Regions from separate parts of the Homo sapiens genome. Here region 1 is linked to region 2. Evidence: promoter capture Hi-C in 16 types of primary human blood cells and fetal thymus (Javierre and others, 2016). All regions are on one chromosome and are shown on one strand. Each heading gives the region's core, a stretch centred on a gene start or on the middle of the fragment in contact. The rest is flanking DNA. Distances are from core to core; before and after follow the strand shown.

Region 1 (3,547 bases), core at 810-3,309, 8.4 Mb after region 2:
CAGCCCGGCCTAGTTCAGGTGAGACGATGGAAACTTCGGCCCTAGGACCTGGCCTCGGAGCCACAGTCGAGGGCGCGGCCCTAGCTGCCGGGGGTGTGGCCCTAGCTGCCGGAGGCGGGGCTACTGGCCCCCCATCCTGATCGAGGGCCGGACCGCTCATCTCCGGCCACACGTGTCAGCACTGTTACCAGTTTTGACATTTTCTTTCCAGCCCGCGACCCACGCAGGTCCTGATTCCAGCGAGAGTCGAGGGTCCTGGGAGAAAGCACCTCTGCTCTTAAATTATTCACTCCGAATTGAGTTATCGTGACGCCCTGTGGCATTGGGAAACCTCTCCACAACCAAGTTGAGCCACAGCCCTCTGCTAATGGAGGAGGGTAAAAGGTCTAATTGGATACCGATCACAAGTAGCAGTAATTAAAACTTCATTTGATTCGCACCTGGGGCACATGCAGCTAGTAGCCCAGATAGCCTGTGACTTAGAAATGCGTTTGAATACAGAATTTACCAAAGTGTGGTAGCTGTAACTGCCGGTAGTGGCAGAAGCTTATTCCAGTTCCATAGTGAATGTTCAAGACACAAACAAAAAAAAGTGATTTAGTATGATAACCTTTTCACATTTAATTGTTTTGGTAATCTCTTGTTTTGCAGATGAATTTAATTTGCATCCTTTTGTGTTTTCATTTAGTTTTAACTCAGTAAAATGGTAAGGTGGCTTGCAGTGAGGTTGAAATGTCTATGTGGAAATACAAGACAAAACATATCAAGGGATGAGTGCTTTGTAACAATTTGTGCCCAGTGCTTTGTTCCTCATAAGTGCAATAAGAACTAAAAAATTCCTTTTAAAATGAAAATATACTGGAAGAAAAGTGTACCTTGCTCACCTTAAAATTATTTCCTGTAAGTTCATCTATTATTGCACAACATTTGATTTGAGGGAATTTTTAAAAATTACTGAACCTATTACTCAATTTTGATTTGATATTCTCAGTGATATACAGGATTCCAGCTGACTTGCAGAAAGGTGAAAAGAGCGCAGCAGAGTTCAGACAATCCATTTCCTTGTGTGCAGTTTGTGTTAATTGTCTTTGGATAATTTTATTGTTGACTAGAACTTTCTAAGTACAACACTTGCTTAAGATTTTAGAAACCATTTCCCTTATTCTTTTTCTCTCTGCAGTTAAAAAACAATGTCTAACCCATGCAATGAACTTTTGACTGTATGTCTCATTTCCAAAGGAATGAGATCATTGAGGTGGACCCAGAGAAACTGAATTCAGAGAAAAACTTCCATTATTGAGAACCCAAACGCTGATTGCCAGACAAAAGGATGAGAGGAAATGCTGGACCTCCAGTTTCTTGTTAATTGCTCTGTTTTTCCATAAGGGACTCTGCCTTAAGCTCATTTTCATTGACTTATCATTTCTGGGTTTGCTCTGGTGTGAAAATTCTCATTTAATTTTTTTTCTTCAGATTCTGCCTCTAGTTTAGAAAAGAAAAAGTCTAATTTACAATTCATGTCAGACAATTTTGATGGCACACTGTGGCCTGTCAGAGATTTCTTTAGCATTCTATTTTTTTAAATTATTTTTAATTTTTGTTTTTTTAATTGAAACAGCTTTATTGAAATAAGGTTTACATACTACAGAATTTATCTCTTTTAACATACAGTTCAAAGATTTTTAGTAAATTTATTGAGTCATGCAACCATCACTGCAACTTTAGAACGTCTCTATCACTCCAAGAAGACCCCTCTTGCACATTAGCAGTTACTACCCATTTCCAACCCCAGCCCCGCACAAATGTCAGTCTGCTTTCTATCTATACATTTGTCTTTTCCGGATGTTTCATGTAAATGGAATTATACAGTATGGTAAACACATTTTTTGTCTATTAATTTTTATATTCAACTAGGTTCAACATGTAGCCGTAGCCAAATATTTTAAATTTTCCTTCTGGAAGTTTGAAAATATTTATCTTTTTTGATACTTACTTCTCCTTCTGCTTTCTCTTTTTCATACTGAAACAGTCTTTTAAATGATTGCATTCATTGATTAATTCCTTATTTTTCCCTTCTAGCAGAAGACCTTCCTTTTCACTCTCAAGACAGCATCCTTGGATATTAATTACCTTTTGTTCATTATCCCCTTTCTTATGAGCACCATCTAGTTGTTGAAGCAACAGATTTTCATGTTGTAGTTGAGATATTCTCTCCTCTACGTAGTCCCACTTTCCAAAGGATTTACTTGGCTTAGGTCCTTTTGTACACTTTATAAAACCAAAACCTTTTCTCTGAGAGAATTTCTTGTGTCATGGAGTTTACTTTTTAGGGTATTGAATTCGAGCTTCGGAAAGTTGCTCAGTTAAAAACTCATTATTATCTTTTAGTTCAGAAATATCAGAACTCATTTTCTTTCTTGTAAAGAAACGTCTTGTGCTCTCTGTAAAGCAAGTTCTAGGTCTCTTTTTGTTTTCACACTTTGATCACACTCACTTATAGCAGCAGCCAGTCTAGCATGGAATGACTCAACTTCAGCTTCCAGTCTTTCCTTGTTTTGATTTTCCTTCTCCAGTTTAGACTTGAGCATTGTATTCTCAGTTTTGAGGTCGTTAAGCTGTTGACCATACTGGGATACTGTTTTTGTTAATGTTTTTCCATTCAGTTTTATAGTCTCTTGAAGGTCATCATTCATTTCTTTAACAATTTCAATGTCCTTTTTCCCTTTCGAGGTTCCTATTTTTTATTGTGTATACTTACATACACAATAAAGGCAATATCTCTCTTCAACAAGCAATTTTCATGCATCAGATCTTTTTTTTTCTTAAAGTATTTCTTCAAGCCTTCAATTCTATTTCTAGTGATCCGATAGTCAGTTTAAGCTGTTCTTTTACTTCAACTTCTTTCCTATGTTGCTCCACTTTCCTTTCTAACTCTTCCCTAATTTTTTCATATAACATATTAGCATTTCTTCTCATCTTCTTCTAAGCTGCAAACTGTAGAGTTCCTGTTTCCATTCTACTTTTTGATATTGAACTGTGACTTCGTTTCTTGTGTTTTGGATAGCTCCTTCAGTACACTAAACTCAGTTTTCATATTTCTTATTGTCTAGTGTAAGTTGTTCACAGATAATTTTTTTTAAGGTCCAGTGACTTTTCACATGAAAGAAATGCATTCTGGACTTCCATTAGGATACGAGAATCATTACAATCCATTCCATATTGCTTAATGAGCATCATAAACTTCTTACAATGAGGGTAAGGTTTCTCATGATCCTCTGAAGCTGTTTCAGAGGGCCGAGTTAAGTCATCAGGTTCATCTCTAAATGAGTTTGCTTTTTGACCTTTTTCTTTTCATTTGACATTTTCTTTGCAGGCCTAGCATACTCTTTGTTCTCCTTCCTAGGAAATCGCTGATGGTAAGTTTTTCCACTCTTTCTTTGTTGAATTAATTTATCATCATCGTCAGCAGATGTACTATCATATACGTTTTTTTGATACTTTTTTTTTTTAACTTTCGTGCTTCTTTCTAGCTTCTTCAACCTGTGGC
Region 2 (3,565 bases), core at 627-3,126:
GTATTATCTTAATCCAAAGCAGTTAAAGTGATTTTATAATTTCATACTTAAAAGAATATGCCCACAATTGCCCTGCAAGCTCAACTAATCAATTATAAAATAATTCATTTGAAAATTCCAAATAGCAAATGTTTTATTTCACTGTTTTTGAGCTCAAGAGCACTTTTGAGTATGAAAGTTACCTGAAAGGAGGGAGGTGGAGAAGGGAACATAAAATTAGAAAAGTCTAAGAAAACAGAGGATAGCTAGGCGAGTGTCTATAAACAATATGCTCAAAACATCCCCCACAAAGCAAAGTGTGGACAGAGGGTGCCACATCAGCAGTAGTCTGTATTCGTCCTGCTTCTAAATCATTTGTTAATTACATGAATTATTCATTTCGGTGATCGTTTGTTGATATGAAGCAGTACCAACTCTCAACTGCAAAAAGTGATAGGGTCCTCCTGATTTGCTCTACAAAAATCAAACTTGGGTTTACTCTTACAGAACACGTTCTGCCTTATAGAGACACAGGGTGTTTTGTTTTTTGTAAGCTATTCTTAAGTTGCTTTTAATTTTTAAAGGATTGAGGGAGTTAGTTTAATGCCTAGCCCACACCGAACTTTGTTATCAAAAGAAATTGTTACACCACTTAACAAAACTCCTTTTCAACCCGGACTGCCACACATTCTGCCTTCTCTAACTTCAAACAAAACTATAAAGCACATAGTAAATAACATATAAGGCCTTGTATTTTTCTCTCCTCCGGCAAGGAAGTCTAACTCCAAACAGGAAACTGCTCCTCAAAGGATCCAACACTGAAGTCCAAACCCAGTCCTCGGGAGCACACTGAATGCTTAGGTGCCAACACACTTGCCTAGGTAGAACCCGAGTAAAACAAATACTCAAGCTTTCCTGTCCTTGAGGCACCCCTTGCGAGTTTCAGCAGGAAAAAAAAAAAGTTTTTGAACAAATTTATCTCTCTCCTTAAACGTATTCAAAGCCTCGCAGAAAATAAAGAAGTTGAAAGTGCTACTTTATCAAGTTTTTCGATCGCCCTCCCCCATCCCACGAGGAGGGGGAGGGAAGCAAGGGGATGAGGAAGGGAAGGAAGGTCAGGTCTGATTTTAGCTGGGCAAGGGGTTAGCAGAGGTGGCCAGGCGCCCCCGCCCCCCATCCCGCACCTTTCTGGTGAACAGGAAAAGAGGCGGAGAAGGGAGAGCGAGGGAAAGCACCCGCGAGCTCTCCCACCAGTTTCTCCGTGAGAAGAGCAAGGTGGAAGGCAGGGCAAGAAGGGGCGGTGGGGAGAATGGAGAGGGTGGGGTGCTGCCGCTCAGGGGCTGACCGCAGTCGCCTCCCCAGAAGGCCGAGAAAGGGCACAGCCTCCCCGGGTCTGGAAGGTCCGGACGGGCGGCGGGAAGCGCCCGAGTCTCTTACCCATGCTGGGGGCTCCCGCGGGGAGAAGCCGACGTCCGCTCCTCCTCCTCCTCCTCCAGTGGTGGCTCGCGCGGCCGCTCCCGCGGCTGGAGGCGGGACCCGCGCTCCGCGCTAGCCCCTCCTGAGCTCAGGCGGGGCGAAGAGTCGCCTCCATCCGCCCGCGGCGCTCTCCTACCAGTCTCTTCAGCGCGGCCCTCGAGGCAGAGGCAAAGGCGGCGACAGCTCCTCACCCCTGGCCTCCCCAGGAGCCACGGCGGCGGGAGGGCCCTACCCCGCCCGCCCGACCGCGGTTTTCCCACCCTGGCCGCTCCCGCAGTGGGGAGGGACCCACCGGTTTGCCCAGACCCTCGGCTCCAACCCCGAGCGCCCGCCTAGCCTCGGAGCCCGCCCCTCGCCTCTTCCTTAGCACTCGCAGTTAGAAAAGGCGACACCGTAGACTAAGGTGGGGACCCAGACAGAGGCCGAGAAGGTGCGGGGAGCTGGGACCGGGAGGAGGCAAATCTCGCGAGAACGCCCTCGTTCTCCCCGCCCCACCCCGCCCCGTCGCGTTCGGGCTCTCTCCCGGTCCCCACGGCTGCTGCCAGGTGCGGTGACGTCACGGCCGGGGGTCGCGCGCCGACCGCGTCCAGGTGCAGCGAGCGGATGAGGAAGCGGTGCAGAGGAGCTTGGGCTCGCTCTCCCCCCGGAGGCTCGGAACAGCTTGGGCGGGCGTTTGGTCTGGTTTGTCGCCTCAGATGGATCAAAAGGTTTCTGCTGATAGGCAAAGTTGCCCCACTTTCCGCGGCGGCGACGCGGAGTTACTTTCTGCAGCGAAGCAGCCTCGAGGACCTTAAAGGGAAAAGGCGGACAGAAGGAGGGCGAGCGCACTTGATTTCGACCTTTAAGGGAGGCCCAGATGCTGCCAGGCCCCTCAGTTTACCTTGCGAAGTTACTTACGGATCAGCAGCATTTGGTCTTCGTCGGGTGAGGGAGAAACCTAGGCATCAAATAAATTCTGTTTCACAGATTCCTTTAGTCTCTTGTCAGCTGAATGCAACTTTATAATTTGCTTTTTTTCTTTTTAAAGTATAATTTGAGTTGTTACTTGATCGAGAGAAAAATAGGCATCATGATTTGAAATACTGCCAGGCATTTTTTCTAGCGTCAATGTGAAGGAGGGCATAGGATTACTATAGTCAGTCAAACATGAGCTTGGTAGTTACGAAGAAGTATAATTATTTCAGCAAGCTTTTTTTCCCCCTTCTGTTTAAGTAGACCCAATTCCAGGGCAGATGTGTGTGTGAGCGTTTGTTGAACGCCAACTATTGTGCCTAGTGCTTTTTCAAGAAATTTTGTAATTCTCAGTCATCCAGCACTGAAACTGACTTGCCCTTTGGATCCAGGCAGACATGGGTCCTTGAAACTCAGCACAGCCATTTACTTTTTGTGGGACCTTGGATAAATTAACCTGTCTGAACTTCAATTTCTTGAGTATGTTCAAACAAATCTTGCAATGCAGAGCACAGTGGCCCATAGTAGTAACCTTGGACGTATCCATTACCACTATTTCCTATAGGCCTGCTTTTGCCATCTTTTAATTCTTCTAATGCTTCTCAAAAGGTTACATGTGGTAATTTTATAACAAGAATGATCAAACTCACAAACAGCAGCCAAAAAGGATAAAAGAAAAAAGTTGAATATACTCACCTAAACAAGATTACATTGACATCATGGAACATGTGCCTTTTTTAGGTAACAAATATGTGTTCAGCATTATGTTCGTTGTCCCCTACCAAGCAAAAAAATAAAAAGCTAAAGTACAGCGCTAATCCTCAGAGATTTTGCATTCTTCTAGGGGGGTGAGATACGAACACAAAGTTAATTAACAGTATGAGGTAGTGAGGGTCAAATGCTTGAGAATTTAAAGGAAAATAAATTACTGTGGGCAAAGCAAGCTGTAAAGAGAAGGTATGAGTTGAACGAAAGCTTGGGGAAGGCAATAATTCAGTCTGGAGGAGTCCTAGAACTGAGGAATGGAAGTGGATATGCAAACAGAGTATTTCTGAGCCTTTAAGAAATGTGTGTGGCTCAAGCAGCCCATAAGGAAGGCCATTTACGATTTGGAAGAATGAGGCTGGTGATGGGCTAAGAAGGATTCATGAAAGGAGAC

What was found. The method cuts DNA at HindIII sites, captures the fragments that hold promoters and counts their contacts. A CHiCAGO score of 5 or more calls a contact.
Region 1: a contact is called between a fragment that was not itself captured here and the fragment with the promoter of CD2AP in region 2, in 1 of 17 cell types (non-activated CD4 T cells). The highest score is 6.9, in non-activated CD4 T cells.

Annotation. Positions count from the first base shown.
Region 1 is chr6:39,111,354-39,114,900 of GRCh38, reverse strand. It overlaps SAYSD1 (SAYSVFN motif domain containing 1), which reads left to right. Exons shown (of 2, transcript NM_018322.3): 1 at 1-18. It also overlaps the pseudogene ANKRD18EP. Among named protein-coding and RNA genes, the nearest start is that of SAYSD1, 2.1 kb to the left of the region's middle. RefSeq lists an enhancer at 1-121. The HindIII fragment of the contact is 3,021 bases long and covers 549-3,547 here.
Region 2 is chr6:47,476,100-47,479,664 of GRCh38, reverse strand. CD2AP (CD2 associated protein) reads right to left here and starts at 1,876. Exons shown (of 18, transcript NM_012120.3): 1 at 1,417-1,876. The coding sequence starts at 1,420. It overlaps CD2AP-DT (CD2AP divergent transcript), which reads left to right and starts at 1,593. Exons shown (of 1, transcript NR_187257.1): 1 at 1,593-2,422. RefSeq lists an enhancer at 592-1,318 and a silencer at 1,605-2,114. The HindIII fragment of the contact is 1,754 bases long and covers 892-2,645 here.